Linked DNA regions of Homo sapiens: region 1 is linked to region 2. The links are contacts of gene promoters, found by promoter capture Hi-C in human tissues and cell types (Jung and others, 2019). All regions are on one chromosome and are shown on one strand. The core of a region is centred on a gene start or on the middle of the fragment in contact, and the rest is flanking DNA. Distances in the headings are between cores, read along the strand shown. Region 1 overlaps RFX3 (regulatory factor X3). Region 2 holds the start of PLGRKT (plasminogen receptor with a C-terminal lysine).

Evidence for each region. The method cuts DNA at HindIII sites, captures the fragments that hold promoters and counts their contacts. A contact is called where the count stands out against the background at its distance.
Region 1: a contact is called between a fragment that was not itself captured here and the fragment with the promoter of PLGRKT in region 2, in 1 of the 25 tissues and cell types used here (lymphoblastoid cells).

What each region holds. Positions count from the first base shown.
Region 1 is chr9:3,515,314-3,522,387 of GRCh38, forward strand. All of the region lies in intron 1 of RFX3 (regulatory factor X3), which reads right to left. Among named protein-coding and RNA genes, the nearest start is that of RFX3, 7.2 kb to the right of the region's middle. The HindIII fragment of the contact is 3,565 bases long and covers 2,777-6,341 here.
Region 2 is chr9:5,435,335-5,441,921 of GRCh38, forward strand. PLGRKT (plasminogen receptor with a C-terminal lysine) reads right to left here and starts at 2,591. Exons shown (of 6, transcript NM_018465.4): 1 at 2,455-2,591; 2 at 1,235-1,360. RefSeq lists enhancers at 1,893-3,092, 2,148-2,237, 3,798-3,957. The HindIII fragment of the contact is 22,053 bases long and covers 1-6,587 here.

The sequences.
Region 1 (7,074 bases), core at 3,309-5,808, 1.9 Mb before region 2:
ATATATTGATTCTTTGGAAAAAAGGAATCACTAACAAAATTAAACAGAATGCCCGTCTTCACAAAAATAGATGTATTCTGCACAATATTACAGTAGGTAAGGAAAGAAATCTGGAAGAAATACTGGATCACCTGAGTCTTCTGTCTCCCACCTCCCTACGCCCCGTAAGTCCCACCTCAAGCCCCCACACCCGCCTAAACTTAATGGTCCAGGAAAATTAACTGGGGAAAATATGTAATGCACTGATGTCTAACAATAGAAACAGGATATGATTCCTAAATGTATCTGCTTTTCCTGCCCTTCTACAGCAACCTCCCCCATTCCTCCACAACTAAAACATGGAGGAAACTTAACTGACAAGCAAAGAATCTCTAAAATGGTTTTGAACATTAAAGTAAACTATGCTGACTGAGACTGAAGGGGATGAGATATATTTTAAAGATGAAAGTTATACTGAAATACACAAATGCTATTAGGCATGCAAATCTGAATGTAGTCCAGAAACTTGAAAATGTCTAAGTTAATCAGTAAAAAACAAAGCATTCAAAAATAAATTTTTTAAATCAATAATTACAATCTAAGCTTTAATATACTCCCCTATTAGGCTGGTAAAAGAGTTGAGTTACAGCAGAATATATGACTTATCCTGAATAAATGCAAAAATGCTTCCTCTTTTAGCCTGCTATGTTCTAAAATCTTGAGAAGTCTACTAACCAAAGTAGTATTAAAGTAAAAAAAAAAATTTTTTTTTTTGAGATGGAGTCTTGCTCTGTTGCCCAGACTGGAGCGCACTGGCGTGATCTCGGCTCACTGCAAGCTCCACCTCCTGTATTCACACCATTCTCTCACCTCAGCCTCCCGAGTAGCTAGGACTACAGGCGCCCGCCACCACGCCCAGCTAATTTTTTGTATTTTTAGTAGAGACGGGGTTTCATCGTGTTAGCCAGGATGGTCTAGATCTCCTGACCTCGTGATCCACCCGCCTCAGCCTCCCAAAGTGCTGGGATTACAGGCATGAGCCACCGCACCCAGCCTAAACTAAAAATTTTTTAAAATTTAAGAAAATGTATACTTCTTAAACAAAAGACTATTTTTCTGCTACCAAAGCTGAATTAAAAGAATGCTTATCCAAGTATAAACAATATTAAGAAAAAGAAAAGCAGTAACTATTACCGATGGAAAAATATGAGACTAGTGTGGAGGATAGCAATGCTTTCCAGACCAGGGACCCCAAAGTAGTCCAAAGGCTCTCGGAGCTTGTCTAGACCTTGACGGGATTTTTAGCTCTTCTTAAAAACCAGTTGAATAGCTTCAATAATTGGGGAAGAAATGTCTTAAAAATGAGATCAACAGAAACCTAAATTAATTTTTATTCTGATCAGAGAGCACACATGCACTAGCTCGCTTTCGCACTCTCTCTCTCTCTCTCTCTCTGTTAAATTGCCTATCCACATACTCGGGAAATTATGTCCTGTTTTAAATATCTCATTGGTGAGCAACAGACAGGAGGAGCCCCAAATGTCAGACACTTGTCTGGCACACACACATAGAGAAGCTGGCTCCGGCAGGAGCTCAAGCTGTGAGACTCAGCTAATTCCTATGTGGGTGAGAAAATGAGGGCACTTGGCCACCACTCTCTACAGAAGCCATTGAAATGGTGGAACCTTCTGAGACTTTGCTATAGGTATGGCCATTATGCTAGCACCAGGCTGTGGGTTTTCTTTCTTTCTTGTTCTTACCAGAAGAAACAATAAGCAAACAACTTGCTAGCCTTTGAGAACATGAGTAAGGGAAATGCCAATTCCTGGCTCCATGTTATTGGCATGTTTCCTTCCCTTTCCCAGTGTCAATCTTGCTACAGAATCATAGATTGGAAAGGGCTTTAGAAATCCCATAGCCCTATTGTTTCATGTTACAGATGGAGAAACTGAGACCTATAGGGTATAAGTGACCAGGCTAAGGTTTTACAGTTAGAAATAGAGTGAGAACCTTTATTTTCTCTTTAACCTCCTTTGGCTAGCATTTTTGAAGTCCTTTATATCTTGGCCTGGTCACTCGCTGTCCTTTCTCCTTTTATCATCTTTCACTGTATCTGTCTCCTCTTACCAACTAACACACTATTATTTTGAGGACAGCTGTCTCACTCTATTAGTTTTCCTAAGCTCAACTCCTATTACCCAATACCTCATTTTTGCCTAAACAGGAATTACCAAGAACCTTCAGAAATCTTGACCAAGCACTCTAAAGCAAAGGCAAGCAGTACTAGCTGGGTATTACTGCTTCTAATAAAAGTGAGAAAGGAGAATCCAGGAATTAAAAGTCAACAACAGCAGGCATCTGTGATTGTGCAAACACAGTGTTTATGGACTACAGATTTAACCCTAAGGTACTTAGCCAGAGGCCAGTACATAGCCAGGACTAAGAAGGGAGCCTTCTGAATCAAAACCACACTCAAATTACATAGTTAGTGGAACAAGGTTATAAATTTGTCCAAGAGGACAGTCAGATGAGTAGAAATTGTAAGATAATAATAGACTATCGGAAATGGTAAGAATAACCATACAGTCACGCACCACATAACATTTCTGTCAACAACAAACCACATCCCATAACAAAATGGAGCTCAAAAATTCCTATAGCCCAGTGACATCATAACCAACTAAACATCTTGACACAATGCATTACCTTTTCTACGTTTAGATATGTTCAGATACACAAATACTTATCTCTGAGTTACAAGTGCCTACAGTATTCAGTCCAATAACATGCTACGCAGGTTTATAGACGAGAACAATATGCTATACTATATAGCATAGGCGTGTAGCAGGCTATACCATCTAGGTGTGTGTTGGGTACACTCTATGATGTTCACACAATGATGAAATCACCTAACTACGTAATTCTCAGAACATATCCATATCATTAAGTAATGTATGACTGCATAACCTGACCATCCAAATCACATTTCCTAAACTTTTCCCAAAAGTTCCTTTTAAATCTGTGTCAAATTCACTGGCGAAAGGAAGCAGAGGAGGTGGCTAAGCTGAGAGTCAGTCTAATTGATATGTTGGGGCTAATTATCTACAAAAATAACGCAAAGGGGGTCATATAACTAAACACTTAACGGGAGTGGGGAGAATGGTGAAATGAGTGACACAGACAAACATCTGTACAATATACAATGCTTTGGCAAAAAAGAAAAGACATATAGTATCAGGTAAATTCTCAACTGAAATATATAAGTCAAATTTCCAGTTTGAGAAAGATTAGGACTGTTTATAGATCACTCTAAAATGAGAAAAGTATTTCATTCTGATGAAAATGTTCAGGAAAAATATAGAAATAAAGGAAATTACTGAATAGCAACTTTAATAATTAAGCAGCCAACTTGAAAATGTTACTTAAACATCTTTAATATCTAATGAAAGGAAGCCACAGGTGATATATTTCCTCTATGATTTCATATTATATATTACACTAAATAATGTTCCAAGGTTACTTTACAACTCAAGATTGGGATTGACAAATCATCCCAAAATTATTTATTGCTGTAGGTACACAAGTAGTAACCTCACACATTTTTCTACCCTTAGTAAAGTAACAATTCTAAGCAACGCATTATAAAAATGTAGAATAATTCTTTGATAAACTCATCTTTACACAACTGACTAGACTATTTATTATTATTAAACTTTACTGACTACATTCAGTATAAAGTTTATAAATAGGGCTCAGACTGTTTTCAAATAATTCATGTATAACGTGAAAATAAAAATATAAGTGGGACAATGAACTGGACAATGGGAGTATAACAGATAATGACATATTACATCATTAGTTCTTAATCTAAAATCCTTTGACCAGGAGAGTTATGCAAACCTAGTAAAAGGAGCCCATTATAAGGCTGCAGAGTAAAACTAAAACATAACTTTGGGCTAGCATTCTATTAATTCAGTGTGATAAGACTGGTTATCAAATGATAATCCAAGCCTGTGATTGGCAGCTTGTCTGTGCCTTATTTTTTAAAGTGGAGGAAAAAGAATAATTATTATTTAATGAGTATAAATTGGTAAGCAAAGTCTTTCAAAACTTTTTGGGCTCATTAAAAAAGGGATGGTCAAAGGATTCTTAGGTAGCAAAAAGATTAGAATAGGTATTTTCTCAGCCTTCCCTAAAAATAAAGCCAACGCGTATTGAACACATATTGTGTCAAATACTGAGCAAAGTACGTTACATAAATTATCTCCTTTAATCCTCACAAAACCCCATAAGGCAGGGAAGATTGATCCTATTTTTCAAATGAGAAAACTGAGGTTAAGTGAAGGTAATAACTTGTCCAAAGTCACACAACTAATGAGATTATCTGAAATCTGACTCCAAAGCCTGTTATTCACCAGTATACTTATTCTATCCATCTATTTAAAGAACAAAACCTATTTATACCTATTTATTGATACTCTAAACACGTTTCCATTTTTAACTGATTTGTTTTCACTAAGAACACTCTGCATTTGATACGAAATAAAAACTACAAATATAAAGATTTTGAAGCAATACAACTTGCTATAAAGTATACTTTCAAAAATCTAGCCTGGGCAATGTAGCAAGACCCTGTCTCTACAAAAAAAAAAAAAATTGAAATGTTTTAAATTTTAAAATGATGGCAACAGCCTGTAGTCCTAGCTACTCAGGAGGCTGTGGCAGGAGGACCACGTGAGCCCAGGAGATTGAGGCTGCAGTGAGCTATGACTATGCCACTGCACTCCAGCCTGAGTGACAGAGCAAAACCCTGTTTCAAAAAAGGAAAAATCTTAGTGGCAAAAACTAACTGGTAAACTGTAGGACTATATTTTTAAAGAAAAATGCCTAACCTATTTTAGCAAGACCAGTATTTAAACATAGTGTTACTTTAATAAATGTTTTGGATTCTTTGAGGCAGTCTAACACACATGAACTACTATGCCTTGTAAGCTTACTTTATAAAAATATCACAATTAACTAATTATAGTAAAATATGGACTAGTACAGATAAATCCATTATCAAGATTAAAAAGTTTATATGCTGTAACTGTATCTTTCTAAGCTTACTTAAGGAAGGTATCACTGTTTCAGTATGTCTTTTAGAGTATATATTGCTGTGAAAAGAGTCGATGATACAAGAAGTAGCCCAAGATTGGATTCAGTATTCTCCTAAAAATCTCTCACTGAACAAATAAAATACAAAAAGCAATATAAGATCACTCCCAGTTTAAAAGTATATGGCACACAGTAGGGCTGGGAACCTAAAAGTTTTCAGATAATAAGCCAAATTAAACAATCAAACTAGCCTATTCCAACAGCATGAAGTACGGATTGCATTCGTTTCTGTTTTTGGTGTTTTGAGACAGGGTCTTGCTCTGTCACCCAGGCTAAAGTGCAGTGGCATGATCATAGCCCACTGTAACCTGAAACTCCTGGGCTAAAAAATTCTCTCACCTCAGTCTCCTGAGTAGCTTGAACTACAGGCACGCACCGGCAAGGCTGGCTAATTTTCTTTTACTTTTTTTTACAGAAATGAAATCTTGCTATGTTGCCCAGGCTGCTCTTGAACTCATAGCCTCAGGTGATCCTTCTGCCTCAGTCCCAAAGTGTTGGGATTATAAATGTGAACCAATACAACCAGCCAGAATTATCTAGATAATGTCAATACTATTTTATTATGAATTAGCCTGATAACCACTATTGCCATTTATTTTTCCAGTGGTTTTTTTAAAGATTATACAATAAAAAGCATATCACTATGCCATGTAAAAGTGTTATAAGAATGGACAATTATTGATATGTGCTAATCATATGAAATTTAAGAAGTATAAAGCCACATATCGCCAAATAGTATGATTCTCAGGGTAACCTAAGTTTTGAAATAAAGATTAAAATATCTACATAAGATAATCAACATATATGCCTATAGGACTAATGCCAGACAGTGCCAAAGATATCAATCTTTATATTGTTATATGTTGCGGTAATATGTATTAGTACACGAAGTTAGGTTCTGATGTAAAACTGCCAATTAAGATAGTATGTTAAACTCCATAAAAATAAGCCTATTATATGCTTCAATGCATATATAATTAAAAATTTTTTTCTTTAAATAAAAGTTCTAGTGAGTTCACATTCTTAGTGATAATAATCTCATGTTGCAAACAGCACAGCACCCTCTGGTGCATCTGTTATAAGAAATATAAAATTCCCACAGAAAAGGACAGAATTGTAGAGTAAAAGTGAACCTTAGAAATCAATAGGTTGATAGTTTTTTTATTTACTGCAGTACATATTTTTGAACATTAATACTTAAAAATATTATCATTTTAAAAGATCACTATAAACTTTATAGCAGTAAATGAAGTCAGGAAATGTCTTAGTTTGAAAATACTTAACCAACAAAAACAACACCTATTTCCAACATATAAAAAATGCTGTCAAAAAATTATTTCAGTAAAGGATGACAAAAGTTAACTTGTCATGTTAACCAAATTTCACTTTATTCAAATTGGCCTTGGGGTTTGACTTGGGTGTGTAAAATGTTCCTGTGTACTTTTTCTGGATTCAAAGGGAATTTACCATTATTTATAAGAATTGATAAGTGTTTTGTGAAAGAATCTGCAGGTTCTACCACTTAAAAATAGAATATTCAGAAATAAAAGTTATGTTAAATTACGAATCTTGAGTAGTTCAAAACTTTTACTTTAAAAAAAAAAAACTTTTCCTAGAAAACTCTAAAAGTAGATTTTACTAACAACAAAAGCAAAGGATGCCACCTGCTTTAGACAGCCCTTTTGTCAACCACTGGAAGTCCCAACACAATGCAGTAAAAAATGAAAGTGACACCTGTTTAAAGCAGCCATCTGTCCCTAACAAGCCAGATTTAGTCAAATCCACTTAATCTTGGATTTCCAAAATATGGGAACACTATGTATCTGTGAATAGAGAGGAATTTAAAACATACTTTGTCATGGCCACTGGGAATATATACCAAAGAGTTAAAGGCAAATTACTCAGTTATGAAAACTGTTTTTAAGGTAACTGAGCTCA
Region 2 (6,587 bases), core at 1,341-3,840:
AAAAGAAGAAGATTGAGCTGTCTCAAGGTCAGTAGACCAGTTATTCTTCCTGTCATCCCACCACAATCCCTGTCCCTCTCCTACATGCCCCTTATTTCCATCCACCCACTGCTAACTGCCTTAGCCATCCTCCTCCAGCTTCACTCTCATTCTCTCCAAGATAGCATGTACTAAAGTTCTCAAAAATGGAAAAACATACAGATACTTGAATGTCCTGGAAAATGTACTTTTTAGATGAATGCACAGTAGTGTCTATCTTATGTAAGTTTTTAAGTGGGCTGTCAACTCTACAAGGGACAGAACTCCAATTTTTATTCTTAATCCAACTGGGTGGGTACAGAAGACCTTGAGTTAGTTGGTTGCATTTCAGAATACTGCAAAACTCAGGGGAAAGTTACAACTGCTCTACCCTTCTCAACAATGTTGCTGATACCTTTTCTCTTTAATAGGCTGTTGAGTAGGGTTGTGAACCTCAGGTAAGAATGGCCAGTCTTAATTCATTACAGCCAGGATTCCCAAGTATTCTGTGGGAAGCCCAGCTAATGGGGTTCCAGGTGAGTGGGAGCTGCAAGCAAGACTTCAGTGACTTCCTTGTATTCTGATCAAGGATACACCTGGAGTTTCAGGGCTCTGTGCCAGAGTCAGCTTCAAAGCTGAGCACAGGATACCAAACCACTTACCAGGATGAAGAGGCACAATGCTGAAAAGGCCTGAGGTGGTGAGATTTCCCTCCCCTTCTGCCACTGTGCCACTCGAGCACCCTGTGACCAGAGTTAGAGGCCACTCACTGACAGCAGGGTGATTTGGCAGTTCTTTCCTTTCTCCAAACCCTAACAGTCCCATGCGACTCATCTCTAACAGCAGACCAGAACCTGCCTGAGGTTAGGAGCGAGATATTATCCATCTTGATAGTCTCCATGGTGTCTACTTCCCCTAAATATTTGCACAAAGCATGAGAGATACAAGAAAAACTGTGGCTCAGGCCACTTGCCATTACTTATTTTTCTTCTGAACATAGGAGTGGATGACTAAATTTTTACACCTGCTGCAAACATTTATAAAGAAAACAACTGTACTCTAGTACTATTCCTCCACATACCCTGTATATCACAGAGCTGTGTGCTTTCAAGTGCTCCTGTTTGTAAGGGGTTAGGATCTCCCCTGAAAAGAGAGAGTCCTCATGTCAATCATCTGGGAAAGAAACACTGTCTGGGAAGTTAGTATTTAGATTTACCTCTTTCTGGGCCTTGCTCTCCTGGGTCTGGACTTGTAGTCTGAATGTGTTAGAGGACGCTCCCAGGTGGAAGGGTTAAAGGTGGAAGCCAAGCAGGAAGAAGAGCTTCCTTATGGGAAACCACACCTGAGAATAAATAAATGCATCACACCTTGTAAATTTCACCCTGGAGTTCAGTATTTTCAACATTCTTTCCTTTCCCAACTTCCCCATTCCTGGCAAAGTCATTTCCCAAAGTCTGGGAATATTCCGTAGGGTGTCCAGAACACTTTCAGCTATCTCCTCTTGCTCACAAAATATGTATCAGAAAATAAGCAAAATTGACCTTGCAATAGGGATAACTTTGATTTCACTCACTTGTATAAGTTAAGTCTTTTAAAAATTCTAACACTTTTCACCAGGGGTAAAAAAAAATGTCTTGCTACTTATACAATTTTAAACATCACTGTGTCTCAGAGTGATGTTTTGCAGAGAATGCTGATTTCAATCCCTCTGTCTTCATTTTCCCTTTGATTCCTTCTGAGATCTTGGAAGGGGTCTTTAATGCTTCAGCCCTGCCTCAGGTGAGCTATAGATTACTATGGGAAGGTGTATTTCTGGGGAGGAGAAGTGGTGCCTGCAAGTTCCAGACAACCTTTCTTCCGGTCACCCGTGAGTACCTAGATTTGATTTTACTTGGGGGGACATAAAAAATTAATTGCATGAATTCTGTCATCGGGATTACCACGCTGACTTATTTCCCGATCAGATGACACATTGCCTGAATGTATGACTGATCGTCTCACCACAGTCATTTTCAATATTTGCATCCCATTGAAATTAAGCCACATCCCCTTGCAAATTCCAGCCCAGAGCCCACAGCTTCCGGAGGTTTTCTGTAATTAACACCGCCCTTGCTCCCTGAGGCCAGTTACTGTAATTTAGGTATTCCCCGCAATAGTGTGCTGATTTCTGTTGAGAGCACTGTGCCTGTTTTTCTCAACTCTATTTTAAAGCTACGGAGAGATCCGGAGTCCACGCCAGGCGACAAGAACGCGCTCTAATGGAACGAAGTTGGCAATACCTATCAGCACCAGGGGCAGTGCGAGAGCCAAGAGCCGGCGCTCACGAGGAGCGGGCGCCCAGCGCTGCCTGGCAAGCCCGGAGCCCAGGAGATCGCGCTGACTGACATGGCCGGGCTGACCCTTCTCCCCACCCGCCTGCGGCCGGTGTTCACTCACTGGGCGGCGCTGGTGCCGGGACCAGGCGACCGGTACGCAAACCTCCAGGCCCGGGCTCCTTTCGCCCGCTGCAGGGACCGGGCCTCGCTCCGCCCAGCGTCGGGATTGGCGCCCAGACACAGTAGATGACGCACCTCAGCCAATTCGCGCAGCCCTCAGCTTCTTTAAAGAGCCGGCACTTCCGCCAGAAGCCGGGTGTGTCCTTCCGGGCCAGGCTCAGTGTTACCAGAGGTGGGAGGGGAAGGTCAAAAGAGGCAAATTCAAAGCCGCGGCGACTCAGCTGCCAGATTTTTGAGATGAGGCAGAGGAAGCGGAGTGGAATTCTCAATTAAAGGCCTCTGTCCCCTCATCTGTTAAATTGGCACTATTAAAAAGTCATAAAGATAAGACAGAAACGAGAAAGAAGAGAATTGACTGAAATTACCCATTCTTTTTTGAACAGAGCCGTCTTTCTCCCCTGCTGCTCAGAGAGATGTCGGTCTCGCCTCAACCTCACCAGCAATTTCTATCTTGAATAAGCCACGTCTCTCTCCCAGCCTGAGAGAATGCTTGAATTGTTGGCACTCTGTTCTTTGCTACCAAATGGCTTGGAAAAATAGCATGAACGTCACCAGTCTCTGGCCTTCAGGAAAGTCCCTGCTAACCACCACAGCGGTGGAGAAGGCGTCTAACTTTCTCCAGGCTCAGCGTGTGAGTGCACACCGCCCTGACCTCCTGGGCGCGTCTTGATGCTCTCAACAGCAGCCCTCAGGATTCTGGACTGTGGGTCCCACATTCCAGATACCATTTGTGGAATGGCTGGATGAGAAAATTGCAACAGCACCCTCATTTCCAGTTAAGGGAATGGGCGGGTTACCAGGAGGTTTGACACTCTTGAAGGGAGGTTAACAACTGATGCAAGAAGTAAGGAATCGTGTTTGAGTGCACAGACTCTAGCATAAACACACCTACCTTCAATTTCTAGCTCTGTCACTGTCACTCTGAATTTATCACCTCTGCAACAGGACTAAAGCCATCTAATTTATTGGATTGTGAGGACTAAAAGATAATATATGTGGGCATTTAGCACAGTGTCGGGCACATAGTTCGCCTTCCGTAACCAGTAGTAACCAGTAACAGCGGGGAGCTGTTAGTAACTATAGGGCTGAGGGGTGGGGGAAGGAAGCAGTTACTAAAACCAGGCGAGAGCGAGAGCGGTAGCTGTGGCTGTACGAGAGAGTAACCAACTGGAACCGTGTCGTTCAGTAGAGGAAAGCAAGCAATGCCAACTTTTCACCAAGTAAGGTGAGATTCTATAGTTGTAGCCAGTGCTGAGACGTCAGCCCAAAGCAGGGACAGAGTGGAGAAGACCCACCTCTCTGTTCTCCCAGCTCTGATATCCAGCTGGGGTCTTCCGCTGGCTGGATCCACCAGGAAGCCAGAAGACAGTGGAGCTAGGTCTGTGTAGTCTGTAGAGGTCAGCCTACTAGGCACAATGCCTGGAGGGAGAAATAGAAAATATCCAGCACACCATTTCTTTTTTTTGTTTGTTTTTACACTTTAAGCTCTAGGGTACATGTGCACAACGTGCAGGTTTGTTACCTATGTATACATGTGCCGTGTTGGTGTGTTGCACCCATTAAGTTGTCATTTACATTAGGTGTATCTCCTAATGCTATCCCTCCCCCCTCCCCCCACCCCACAACAGGCCCCGGTGTGTGATGTCCCCCTTCCTGTGTCCAAGTGTTCTCATTGTTCAATTCCCACCTATGAGTGAGAACATGCGGTGTTTGGTTTTTTGTCCTTGCGATAGTTTGCTGAGAATGATGGTTTCCAGCTTCATCCACGTCCCTACAAAGGACATGAACTCATCATTTTTTATGGCTGCATAGTATTCCAGCACACCATTTCTACAACCTTGGGTTTATTGTGTTTGGAAGCCTAGATCCAAAGGAAGGAATGCTGCCACTAGAAGACCCCGTCACTGAATTGAATTGAATTTCAATTCATTGATTCGAAAGCTGAAACTGCCCTCTGGTCACTTTGATTCCTCACAGTGACAGAATGGTATGATTCATCCCAAATACCAAAAGGAAATTGGGTTACATCTATATATTGAGGGCAAGAAGAACTATGCATGACACCTGGAGATTCACTGGGCACTTCTTAATACTGCCGTGTGCCATAATAATGATTATCAGATAACTGAAGTAATGCAGAAATTTCAGATCATGAAGAAATTAAAGTGTTGAAGCATACCAGATAAAAAAATCCTGATCTACCTAGGTGTTGGCATAGGGCAGGGGAAACATACATAAGTAAATGAGTAGGAAGCTATGATTATTAATTTTAGCCTTGCAACAAGCTCTAGAGGCAGGAATTATAGTAGCTCTCCATTTAAAATGTTAATTACTTCTTCCCTGACTCTCTTTTCCTATTACCCTGCATAAAGAGTAGTGGTGGAGATAAATATTACAATTTAGTTTCTGGGTGAGAATGTGCCTGAACTGACATCCCCTCAAGGCAATATGGCAGCTGATGAGGCTTGTTAAGGAAAATCAAAGCTGGACAATAGCTGTAGCAGTAAAAATAGATTTTTATTCAGCAACTTTTGAAATAGGGGGAAAGAGACCTTGGTAAAGAACTGGGCTCAATTCTGAATACAGTAAGGATAAGTGGGGATTTATAGCCGAGGAGCAGGTTGTGTGGATGGGGGTGGGGTCCGTGGATGGAAAATTACTAAGAAGAGACAGCAAGGGTAGGGGAAATCCTTGCTAAACTGACCTAACAGGATTCTTGCTAAAGGTAGGCCAGGGTAAGCAGACATCACCTGGGGGCTGGTGGGGGTAAGGAATTTGATCAGATATTGAGAGTGGTCAAACATTCAGGGTGGGAAGATCCTCTCTAAACTGACTTAGCAGGATTCTTGCCAACACTGATTCTGCAAGGATGAACACTGCAGCCCAAGGTCAATATCTAATCAAGGAGATGGCTTAGAGGAGCCTGACTAAAGTTTGGTCGAGGAGAAATCTTGTCAGACTCTGTCATTCTCATATGTAAGGGATGAGCTGCTCTTCATCTGAGCAAAGGAAAAGAATAAATTCTGGGTGACAAAACAATTAGACTGTCTAGGTTTTCTGTTTGCCTTCCATCATATTCATTCTCCTCACTTCCCTGCCCTGTTCTATACCCCAAAGCTGACCTCTTTGGACGGCACCACCTGGGCTCTCCTCAGCTGGTTTCCATTTGAGTTTGGACAGCGGGAGGCATTCAGGGAGATGGGAGGCAGGAGGAAAAAGACATCAGGGTATATTTTCTCTGTTCTTTCTCTGTTTGGGGCTGAGTATCTGGTGGTGGTTGTGTTTCTCCACAATTGCAGCTCTTGGCAAGCAGTCCCTTCTCCATGGCTCCAGCTCCATGGGCTCTGGAAACACTTTTCTCCTTTGCTATGTAGCCTAGAGAGAGCGCAGTCTTCCTGCTGTTGCTAGACTCTGGATGACTCAACTGGATGGTTCTCTTAGTCATACTCCTTTAAGTAGTGTCTTCACTAATATCTCTTTAATCAAACCAACTGAGTAAAATTCTGATTCCTGATGGATACATGTTAAACCGAAAACACACATTATAAATTTTCTTGTATGTATGATGTTTTTCATAATTTTAAAACATAAGTGAAAAAAGTGACCATAGAAAAATATGCCCAGGAAATTGAAAAAAAAAGTCTTGGTATAGATATTGGACACATTTTATAAAATGTGGAGTAAGAGGGTTAAAGGAAATTTATTTCAGAATCAAATGGCATATAACTTTAACTGGTATGTGAATTATTTTCAGTTGTATGAATTTGTGAATATATATGTGTACATTTTTATGCATATATATAAATATGTGTTTTATATCATCTTGCATTATAACATAAGGATTTTTATGTTGCTACATTGCATTTATATTTACCATTTTTAACAGCTAAAGGATTTTCAATAAGTGTGTATGTAACAACTTCCATTGCTGGATATTTCTCAGTATATATATGTATATATACATATGTGTGTATACATATATATATACATATGTGTATATATACATATGTATGTATATGTATATGTACGTATGTATGTGTATATATACATACATGTGTGTATACGCATATATAC